Regions from separate parts of the Homo sapiens genome. Here regions 1, 2 and 3 are each linked to region 4. Evidence: promoter capture Hi-C in 16 types of primary human blood cells and fetal thymus (Javierre and others, 2016). All regions are on one chromosome and are shown on one strand. The core of a region is centred on a gene start or on the middle of the fragment in contact, and the rest is flanking DNA. Distances in the headings are between cores, read along the strand shown. Region 1 overlaps RTF2 (replication termination factor 2). Region 2 has its middle 7.4 kb from the start of FAM209B. Region 3 overlaps RTF2 (replication termination factor 2). Region 4 holds the start of FAM210B (family with sequence similarity 210 member B).

The links. The method cuts DNA at HindIII sites, captures the fragments that hold promoters and counts their contacts. A CHiCAGO score of 5 or more calls a contact.
Region 1: a contact is called between a fragment that was not itself captured here and the fragment with the promoter of FAM210B in region 4, in 7 of 17 cell types (neutrophils, naive CD8 T cells, non-activated CD4 T cells and 4 more). The highest score is 8.6, in neutrophils.
Region 2: a fragment that was not itself captured here is called in contact with the fragment with the promoter of FAM210B in region 4 in 1 of 17 cell types (neutrophils); the score reaches 6.1 in neutrophils.
Region 3: a contact is called between a fragment that was not itself captured here and the fragment with the promoter of FAM210B in region 4, in 9 of 17 cell types (monocytes, neutrophils, activated CD4 T cells and 6 more). The highest score is 8.6, in monocytes.

What each region holds. Positions count from the first base shown.
Region 1 is chr20:56,518,381-56,521,080 of GRCh38, forward strand. RTF2 (replication termination factor 2) reads left to right here. Exons shown (of 9, transcript NM_016407.5): 9 at 1-1,069. It also overlaps the pseudogene GCNT7. Among named protein-coding and RNA genes, the nearest start is that of FAM209A, 5.0 kb to the right of the region's middle. The HindIII fragment of the contact is 2,134 bases long and covers 332-2,465 here.
Region 2 is chr20:56,539,311-56,542,010 of GRCh38, forward strand. No RefSeq gene overlaps it. Among named protein-coding and RNA genes, the nearest start is that of FAM209B, 7.4 kb to the left of the region's middle. The HindIII fragment of the contact is 4,088 bases long and covers 1-2,700 here.
Region 3 is chr20:56,498,946-56,501,645 of GRCh38, forward strand. The region is part of intron 5 of RTF2 (replication termination factor 2); the gene reads left to right. It also overlaps the pseudogene GCNT7. Among named protein-coding and RNA genes, the nearest start is that of FAM209A, 24 kb to the right of the region's middle. RefSeq lists a silencer at 1,775-1,975. The HindIII fragment of the contact is 1,363 bases long and covers 659-2,021 here.
Region 4 is chr20:56,357,715-56,360,414 of GRCh38, forward strand. It overlaps FAM210B (family with sequence similarity 210 member B), which reads left to right and starts at 1,260. Exons shown (of 3, transcript NM_080821.3): 1 at 1,260-1,477. The coding sequence starts at 1,292. RefSeq lists a silencer at 937-1,536. The HindIII fragment of the contact is 7,749 bases long and covers 1-2,700 here.

The sequences.
Region 1 (2,700 bases), core at 149-2,648, 160 kb after region 4:
GCTGTCCTGGCCAGCCTTCAAGCTGGTGTGGCCACTCTTGATGTGAGGCGTGTCGGTTCCAGGGGGGACATGGGAGGGGCTGCACAGTGGCCCGAGGTCATGCTTGCTTCCACCTGCAGGTGCATTTGGTCCTTTCCATGGCCAGGAAGCCCTGTGGGCTGCACTTTTTATGCTTGCAGTAACAAGAGACTCCAGAGTCCTCACCGGTGCAGAGTTGGCACATATTAATTAACTAAAATTCTAATGATCTTGCTACCAGCAATAAATCAAGTAGGCCAAGTGAAACTGGGCTTTAAAAAGGATGGATTTCAAATACACTGTGCCCACTAGAAGCTTCGAAGGGCCTCGTCCCTCTGCTACAGCCCTGGGAGGAGCCAGGATCCTTGTTGGTCTAGCTAAATACTGTTAGGGGAGTGTGCCCCATCTCATCATTTCGAAGATAGCAGAGTCATAGTTGGGCACCCAGTGATTGGGTTCAAAAATAAAGCTGGTCTGCCTCTTCTCTCCTCTGTGTTTTTATCTTTTCTACCTTCTGCTCATGCTTGGGTAAGAACATTGCAGCCGTTGCATTGGTGATTACAGGAGTCATTCCATGAAGTCAGAAGAACCCACCCTTCTCTCCTCCAGCAGATGGTAAAGGGAGAATCGTACCCAAAAAGAGGTGCATTTTATCTGCCTATAAGTTGTGTTGACGTCAATAGCTAGTGAAACTTCTCATGAGACTCCTAATGAAGAACCAAGAGCCACAGGCCTCTGCGTGGCTTTCTGCACACGGTGGTATGACTGAGATAGTGACTGGTTCTCTATACAGACCCCGGGGCCCTGGGTTTCCTTCAGAAGCAGAAGGAGCTGTGGGAGGTGAATGGTGGGAGGTGAACAGGCAGGTTCTGTGGGAGACACAGACACGTGGGCAGAACTCCAGGGAGAGGCCAGCAAGGGAGAACCATGTGTGGCCCTGCTTTTTCTCAAACCCTGTGTGGTTCCCGGCTTCACAGTTGATGGGAAGGTTTGGCCCCAAGGATATTTTGACATTGTGAGTATAGAGCATTTTAATAAAAATTAAGTGATGCGTTTTTGTCATGGACTTTTCCAGAACAAACCTGGATTAGCCATTTAATTTCCCCAATTTTCTATACAGCCAAACTCAACCATTTTCTCATTGTTTTTATTTCCCCCTTTTTTTTTTTTTTTTTTTTTAAATTTTGAAACAGGGTCTCACTCTGTCATCCAGGCTGGAGTGCAGTGGCATGATCATGGCTCACCATAGCCTTGACCTCCTGGGCTCAGGTGATCCACCCCCCTCAGCCTCCCGAGTAGCTGGGATTATAGGTGCGCACTACCGCACCCGGCTAATTTTGCTATTTTTTGTAGAGATGAGGTTTCGCCATGTTGCACAGGCTGGTCTTAAACTTCTGGGACCAAGCAATCTGCCCGCCTCGGCCTTCCAAAGTGCTGGGATTACAGGCGTGAGCCACGCTGCCTGGGCCCCCTTTTCTTTTAATGACCATTATTTTTACCAGGTTCGGTTTTCTGAATGTTAGCCTGAATCAGTTTTATTTTGCATTGAATGTATTGACTGTGTCCAGTTTTTTCTGGTAACTGAGTCACAGCATCCTCAACACAAAAATTACAGCATCTCAAAGTCCTCTGCTTTGGGCCTCTCTGAAATAAACAGGCTGTGGGCCTCCCTCCAGCTGCCCTCAGGACCATCCATGCAGGAGGGATCAGGGTTTCCTTGGAGATTTCTAGCCAGCCTTTAATATTTTGCTAAGGCACCACTCTTCAAGGCTCCTGGCCAGCTTGAGGGAAGAAGGTATCCATGATCTGTGCTCCTGCTGGGCATGAGGCCTCAATACACCAACGGCTGGGGAGGGCTGATCATTCGCATTATTTTTAGGGCTCACTGAGCAGCCAAGCACTTGACAGGCTTCTTCCCCTGGGACTCCCCAGCCACCCAGTGCAATGGGAAGATGGCCATCCCCCACTTTATAGGTGAGGTGCCTGAGGCCCAAAGCAGCAAGGCGAATGACAGTTCTGCCTGGCCACACCGCACCTTCTCCCCATTCAGTCCGTACCAAATGAAGGAATCAGTGGCGGCTGGGGCAGGCTCCCACCCAGGCGCCGAGACCACGGGTTCAGGTGCTGTGCCCAAGAGGAAAGTGGGGCATCTCCTAGCTCTCCCTCCTCCTCCGTCCACCTCCAGGACCCAAGCTGCTTTCCACCAAGGAGGGAGCTGGGAGGAGAAAATTGAAAAGATGTTGAAATTCTCCAAAATAGCATCTATTCAATTTCCCACAGTATCGGAGGAACCAGCCCCCAATATTTCAATGTAGGTTCTTTTCTCTTTTCCCTAAGCATCGGCCGGTCTGAGAAAGAGTACAAAAGAGAGAAATTTTACAGCTGGGTCTCTGGGGGTGACATCACGTCAGCAGGTTCTGTGTTGCTCCCGAGCCGCAAAACCAGCAAGCTTTTATTAGCAATTTTCAAAGGGGAGGGAGTGTACGAATAGGTTGTGGGTCACAGAGATCACATGCTTCAAAGGCAATAAAATATCACAAGGCAAATGGGGGCAGAGCGAGATCAAAGTCCAGGGCAAAATTAGAATTGCTGATGAGGTTTCATGTCCCACTGTGCACGCATTGTCATTGATAAACATCTTAACAGGAAACAGGGTTCAAGAACAGACAACCGATCTGACTA
Region 2 (2,700 bases), core at 155-2,654, 180 kb after region 4:
CCAGCCTATAAACCACATTTTTGTGTATAGCTCCATCCAGGGCACTAGCAACTAAAGATGGGGATCCTCCGAAAGGGGAAATTGTCAAAACTCCTTAGAGCAAGTGCACCAAGGATGTAAATTAGAACAAAATCTGCTGTACATTTGGATTTAACAATTCCTCAAAAATGGTATCCTCCATGTCTTTGGCCTAGCTTAATACACACTGTGCAGACCACAGTTTTGCCTAGAAAATAGTGTTTTCTCAATCCAGTCAATTTCATGCAGTATTTTCATGCTAAAATGCATTAGATGTATTTTTGGAGCCATATCTTAAAGTTACTCAACTCTACTGTCATAGCATAAACTCAAATTCTGTTACCACACCCTGTGGTTTAAAAAGAGAAATTGAGGCCTGGCGTGGTGTCTCATGCCTGTAATCCCAGCACTTTGGGAGACCAAGGCAGGAGTATCCCTTGAGTCTAGGAGTTCAAGACACTCCTGGGCAACATGGTGATACCCTAACTCTATAAAAAATACGCAGAATAGTCTGGATAATGGAGCCTTTGGAGAAAAAGTCTTAAAAAAGAAAAGAAAAGAAAAAACAAAACAAAAACAAGCAAACAAAAAAAAACTGGTCGAGCATGGGGGTGCATGCCTGCAGTCTCAGCTACTAGGGAGGCTGAGGTGGGAGGATCACTTGAGCCCGGGAAGTCGAGGCTGCAGTGAGCCGTGATACCACCACTGCAGTCCAGGCTGGGTGACAGAGTGAGACCCTGTCTCAAAAAAAAAATAAGACCAGGTGTGGTGGCTCATGCCTGTAATCCCAACACTTTGGGAAGCGGAGGTGGGTGGATCACCTGAGGTCAGGAGTTCAAGACCAGCCTGGCCAACATGATGAAACCCCGTCTCTACTAAAAATCCAAAAATTAGCTGAGCATGGTGGTGTGCATCTGTAGTCCCAGCTACTCGGGAGGCTAAGCCAGGAGAATCGCTTGACCAGGGAGGTGGAGGTTGCAGTGAGCCGAGACGATGTCACTGTCCTCCAACCTGAGCAACAGAGTGAGACTCCATCTCAAAAAAAAATAAAAATTTAAAAATTTAAAAAAGAAAATGAAAAATAAAAAGAGAAGCTGATGCATAAATGATAACTGCTGATCACTGTAGTTGCCTAAATCCTAATAAAGTGTTTATCAGAGCAGGCTGACAGCTCAGACTGTCTGCAGAATGCATTCCCTTGCAGCTGTAGGACTCGTGGCATTTCGCATCTTCAGAGCCAATAAGGAGAGTAAGATTCTAGAGTGAGTCACTCATACAACAGGGGCCTCACAATGTGATGTCATCATGGGAGCCATGGACATCAGCTCTGCCATGCTCTACTGGGTGGAAACAGGTCACTCACGGTTTGAATACCAGGAATGGGACCCAGCTGCAAAGACGCTGCTCCAGCATGAGGTGATGGAGGCGTCGTGCTGCTGCTAACAAAAAATTGAGCATTAGACAGGAGGGGACATGGTCACTGGACAGGGCCTTGTTCATGAACCTCGATGCGGGTGGTGGGCTGAATTCTAAGATGGTCCCGAGAGGCACTCACCTTTTGGTTTTTGGGGGGTTTTTTGTTTGCTTGTTTTTGTTTTTGAGATGGAGTTTTGTCTTGTCACCCAGGCTAGGGTGCAATGGCACAATCTTGGCTCACCGCAACCTCCTCCTCCCGGGTTCAAGCGATTCTCCTGCCTCAGACCCCGGAATAGCTGGGATTACAGGCATGCGCCACCACACCCGGCTAATTTTGTATTTTTAGTAGAGACGGGGTTTCTCCATGTTGGTCAGGCTGGTCTGAAACTCCCGACCTCAGATGATCCGCCTGCCTCGGCCTCCCAAAGTGCTGGGATTACAGGCGTGAGCCACTTGCCCCCGGCTGGCACTCACCTTTTGTAATCTTTCCCTTGAGTGTGGTGGGAGCTGTGAAGACGATGACATTGTCTTACGTAAGACCCCATAGTAGCCACGAGACTTCCCTGGCAGCCTGAAGATGGAGGCTGCGGTATTGTGAGACCACGGGGGTTCCATGGTAGGGACATGAGGGTGGCCGCTAGGACCCGAAAGAAAGCCTAGACAACAGCTGGGAAGAAAGCGTGGCCTCCAGTGCTATAGCTGTAGAAATGCATTCCACCAACAACCAGTGGCTTGGAAGAGGGAGCCTAAGCCTCAGATGATAGAGCAGCCATGACCGACACCTGATTTCTGCCTGGTGGGACCCTAAGCAGAGACCCCGCCAGCCTTACGTGTACTCCTGACCCACAAAAACTGTGTGATAAGTGGGCGTTGTTGTAAGCCACTACACTTATGGCCAAGTTTTTACACAGCAATTGAATACATCATGCATACACACACAAACACACAAAATGTTTCCATCTGCCACTTCTGATACCACAGCTGACACGTCCACCTTGCCCTTTGACCTAGTCACTGGGTCTCTGAACCAGGGAAATGAGACCAAAGAAACAGCAGCCATGGATCAAGAATGAGAACACCCAGTCCCTTGAAAGCAGAGGCTATGAACTATTGGCTCAGACACCAAACCTCCCCTGCCCATACCATGTTTGTTTGGCCCACAGTAATTTTTCTTAACTTTTTCTTTTGAAATAATAGTAGGTTCACAGGAAGTTGCAAAGGTGGCACTGAGAGGTCCCGTGTGCTCTTCACCCAGTTTCCTCCTGT
Region 3 (2,700 bases), core at 90-2,589, 140 kb after region 4:
TTATCCTTGTGTTCTTAAACTCTGAGCCAACAAAAACTGTTAACATTGACTGTGGATTTTAAAGATGTTGTATTTATTTTCATCGTACAGTTTATTTCTACCCATCATGCTTCCAAAATAAATAGCAGCCACTGCCGAGGTATGTCAGGCCGCAGTGTGTTCCACTGGTTCAGTAAATGGTTTCTGCCCCAAACATGGAACCTTACAGCCTAATTTAAAGACATTCTTATAAATTATGTAATACTTATCTTTTTTTTTTTTTTTTTTTTGAGACGGAGTCTTGCTCTGTAACTCAGGCTGGAGTGCAATGGTGCGATCTCGGCTCACCACAATCTCCGCCTCCCGGGTTCAAGCGATTCTCCTGCCTCAGCCTCCCAGGTGCATGCCACCATGCCCGGCTAATTTTTGTATTTTTTTAGTAGAGACAGGGTTTCACCATAATGGCCAGGCTGGTCTCAAACTCCTGACCTCGTGATCCACCCGCCTAGGCCTCCCAAAGTGCTGGGATTACAGGCGTGAGCCACCACGCCTGGCAATACTTATGTTTATAAACATGAAACCATCATAATTTATACATTTTATATGAGATTTCTAAATTAAATTAAACCTGACCATAGAAATTGAATAGGAAAGAAAAATGTTCTTGAAATGAAAGTAAAGCTTTTTACTACTTCTCCTATAAGAATTTTGATTAAAGATAAACCAGATACCATAGTTTGTCATATCTTCCCCTGTATTATGACTTTAGTATAGGAAGAAGGGTTTGGGTTTTGTTTTTTTTTTTCTGTTGTCCTTTTATTTTGTTTTTTGAGACAGGGTCTCACTCTGTCACCCAGGCTGGAGTGAAGTGGCGCAGTCTCAGCTCACTGCAACCTCTGCCTCCCCGGTTGAAGCGATTCTCCTGCCTCAGCCTCCTGAGTAGCTGGGATTACAGGCATGTGCCACCACGCTAGCTAATTTCTGTATTTTTAGTAGAGATGGGATTTCACCATGTTGGCCAGGCTGGTCTTGAACTCCTGACCTCATGTGATCCACCCTCCTTGGCCTCTCAAAGTGCTGGGAATTTTTAGGTGTGAACCACTGCGCCCGGCCTATTTGTTTTTTTGGTTTTCTGTTGTTTTTTTTTTAGGAGGAGTTTCGCTCTTGTTGTCAAGGCTGGAGTGCAATGGCGTGATCTTGGCTCACTGCAACCTCCACCTCCTGGGTTCGAGCGATTCTCTGGCCTCAGCCTCCCAAGTAGCTGGGATTACAGGCATGCACCACCACACTCAGCTAATTTTGTATTTTTGGTAGAGATGGGGTTTCACCATGTTGGTCAGCCTGGTCTCGAACTCCTGACCTCAGGTGATCCACCTGCCTCAGCCTCCCAAAGTGTTGGGATTACAGGCGTGAGCCACCTCGCCCAGCTAGTTTGTTGTTTTTAAGATAACTTGTGAAAGCGTTCTGTTCCTCCTGTCACAGAAGTGAGTTAGCCCCTCATCACTGCCAAATGATACCCCATGTAAATTTGGCTGTGCGCCGAGCCCAGGAGATTGGGTATTTTCAGTAGTTTATAATAATTAAATGAAGAGAGGCCCCAAGGGTAGCCATTGTCCTTTGGGAAAATACCCAGGCTAAGAGTTTTTCCCTCCCCTGTATAGAGACAGGGACATGGCCAGTTCAGTGTTAACCTGCTGTGGCCTTCTACCTTGGTTCCATCAGCACCAGCTTTCACTGTGGCCCAGTTAAATCTTCCCTCTGGCTTAGATTCACTGTGAAACTTCAGAATGGATGCCTGCTGGACTGCCCTGCTGAGTGGGAACCAAGGTCCCCAGCAGTTTAGTTTGTCATTGTTTCAACATAAACTTTTTTTTGAGACAAGGCCTCACTCTTATCACTCAGGCTGGAGTGCAGTGGTGTGATCATGGCTCACTGCTGCCTCAACCTCCTGGGATTTGGTGATCCTCCCACTTCAGCCTCCCCAGCAGCTGGGACTACAGGCATCTGGCTGATTTTTTGTAGAGACAAGGTTTTGCCACACAAGCTTTTTTTTTTAAAAAAAATCTTTTAAAAATTGATACATAATAATTATATATGTTTATGGATCACAGAGTAATGTTTCAATACACACAATGTATCAGCACAAGCTTTTTAAGGCAGTCAGGCCCTCTATTGTAAATGTAGCCTTTGGAGATCTCACTGCTGTTGCTGTCACTTGAACATAACATCTAGTGGGTAATATGAAAATTCCTGGAGGAATAAACTTTTCATGGCCTGACTTTTTTTTTTTCCTTTTAAGATAATGGTGAACATTATTTTCAGTTTTGCAAACATTTCCTAGCAATTCTTAGTTTTTGTTGTGGCTGTTTTATTTCTATATTGTGAAGTCAGCTATTTTAATGAAAAAATAATGAAGGTTTAGTTACTAAACATGAGATTTTCTGTCACTAAATTAATTTCCAGTAAATGTAGGTGCTATTTTGTAAGTGCGGGGAATATGCCTCTCATAAAAAAGTGTTCTTACTGAGTTTTTGAACCATTTTTTCCTCCATAGAAAGATGTTTAAGATACTTCTTGTAAAGGCTGTAGAAAGAGTGGCTGTTACCCTGTGTATTATGTATGGAGTAGGTATGCAAGTTCTTTGTCTGGAACAGACCTATTTTTAACATTCCAGTGTCCTATTTTCCTTGTGTATTACTAGATCACAAACAGTTTCTAAAA
Region 4 (2,700 bases), core at 10-2,509:
AGTTGGGACTACAGGTGCATGCCACCACACCAGGCTAATTTATTTTTATTTTTGTAGTGACAGGGTTTCGCTATGTTGCTCAGGCTGGTCTTGAACTCCTGAGCTCAAGTAATCCTCCCACCTCAGCCTCCCAACGTGCTTGGATTATAGGCATGAGCCATTCCACCCAGCCAGAACATCTTTATTGAAGTATAATTTACACAGCATAAAATTCATCCATGTTAAGTGTACAGTCCCACGAGTTTTAGTTACACAGCTGTCACCATCCCTACAATCTGGGTTTAGGATCCTTCCCTCACCCCAAGACGTTCCTCCCACTCCTTGGCAGTCAATCTCATTTCCCACTCCCAGCCCTAGGCCACCACGGATCTGTTTTAGGTCTCTGTGATTTTGCCTATTCTGGGCACTTCATGTAGCTGGAATCCTCCAGTGTGTGACTTTTGTGCCTAGATTTTTTCAATTGGCATAAGAGCTTTGAGATTCATTTATGTTGTGCATGTATCAGTAGTCTGTTCCCTTTAATTGTTGCATTGCGTCCCATTGAAGACTTGTGCCACAGTACGTCCCAGTTTATGGGCATTCCTAATTGTTGACTAATATTTATAAGATCTCTACAAACATTGGTGTCTTCACATTTTAGTCTTTGAGTGTCGAGCCTTTGTTTCTCTTGAGAAGCTACCGAGGAGTGGAGTTGCTGGGTTGTATGGTTAGTGTATGTCTAACTTTTCAAGAAACTGCCACACCATCTTTCGCTTTACATTCACGCCAACAATCTATGAGGGTCAGAGGACTTTTTATTAAACATGTACTAATATCAATTCTCATATTTATTTTCTTCTTTGGAGCTAACACGTAAACATATCTATAATTTTTTTTCAGATTTCACCCATTTCTGCAGGGAGAAAAGCTCATAAGCCACGGCCCTACGCCCACCTTTGTGCCCGCAGAATAAGGAAACCCGCCAACTACACACCACAGTTAGAAAGCCCAAGACCCTGAAAAGACCTGCACCCACCCCCAAAGGGGCGGGGCTGGTGGGCGGAGAGGAGGCGGGGCGCGCTCCTTCAGCCCCGCCCACCAGCCCTGGACTCCGGCTCCCGAGGAGCGGAGCTAGCGGGTGAGCCAAGGGGATGTGCACAGGCCTCCTCAGTCCCGCCCAGCGCGCGCGCGCGGCGGCGAAGCCGGCGGGCGGGGCCGGGGAGGGCCCTCGCCGGGTCAGCTCCGCCCACCCTCCCCGGCCTCCGCCCGCCTCCCGGGTCAGCGGCGCGGGTGCTGCGCCTAGCTGCGCACCATGGCCGGGTTGCTGGCGTTGCTGGGTCCGGCAGGCAGGGTGGGCGCCCGGGTCCGGCCTCGCGCCACCTGGCTCCTGGGCGCCACCGCCCCCTGCGCCCCGCCGCCCCTGGCCCTGGCCCTGCTCCCGCCCAGGCTAGACGCCCGGCTGCTCCGCACGGCGCGCGGGGACTGCCGCGGCCACCAGGTAAGCACCCCACCCCGACCCTGATCCCGGGCGGTGTCCAGGTCCCCAGACGTCCGCAGGGCCGCGCCGGGGTCCGGCCGCCTCCGCCAAGGACGCCTTTGCACTTGTAGCTGCCCGGGACCGAGCTCTTCCAGGGTCCCCGAAACCCCAAATCCCTGCAAGCCAAGGAAGCGATCCTCCTAGTTGACAGCCAGAGAAACTGAGGCTCGGGAAGGTGTGGCGCTCTGCCCAAGGTCGCGCAGTCTTCGGCCGAGCCCCGGGTCTGCAGAGCCTCAGCCAGGCTGGGGCGCAGCCGACTGACTTGGTCTGAACTTCCACACGTTGCCTGCGGAGTTGTTGTCCAGGCCTTCTGGCTGGGTCTCGCTGTGTTTTGAACACCTCCCGACGCTCGCTGCTCCTCCCTTTTCTTCTGAGTGGAAGAGCAGGCGTCCTCAGGGAAGCCGCGGGCAAGAAACCCACAGTGCTGTTTGTTATGTTTCATTTCCGTCACTTTCCATTGGTGCTAAGTGAAAACTGGTTTTCCTTCAGAGCAGTCATACCAGCTTTCCTTTCAAGAAATCTATCACTTTCTTCCAAGTGAGTCTTTTTAAATAAAAATAGTAGTAAATGAAGTCTGGCGGTCCAGGAATGGCAAGCCCAGACACGCGGAGCCGGCGTCCAGCCCGGAGCGCATCCGGCCTGGCAGTCTGGAGCCTCTTTGTTTGCCTGGGTGCAGACAGGGCCCCTCCATTCATCGCCCGGTGACCTCAGACCGAGTCCTGAAGGCTTTTGAGCTTGTTTTCTGACCTTTAGAGGGCCAAAAATAGCACCTTCCCAGCAAGAGTTTGGGAGACAACTCCATGAGCTGGTGCAGGCCTCAGCGGAGTGCCGCCGGCCCAGCGAACATCTCCTGACCGTTTCCTAGCTTTTCAGTAAGGAGCGGATGGGGATTGGACCCAGGCTTTCATCATGCCTCCTGCCCAGATCAACTTCCTTCCTTGCCTTCTCCAGTCCGACAGGTGGCACACAGGTCTTGGGGATCCTCTCCAGAGTGGCACCTTCTGCACACACCGTGCCGCCTCCTGATGATTCTTCAGGGCCCAGCCCAGCTGTTCCTTCCTCCGGGAAGCCCTCTCTAACGACCTGTGAGGTCTCGGATGCCTCCACTGGGCCTGCTTCCACCCCATGGCTGTGGGTCTTCTCTGCACTCATCTGGAATGGCCTCTTGTCCTGCCTGTCAGCCA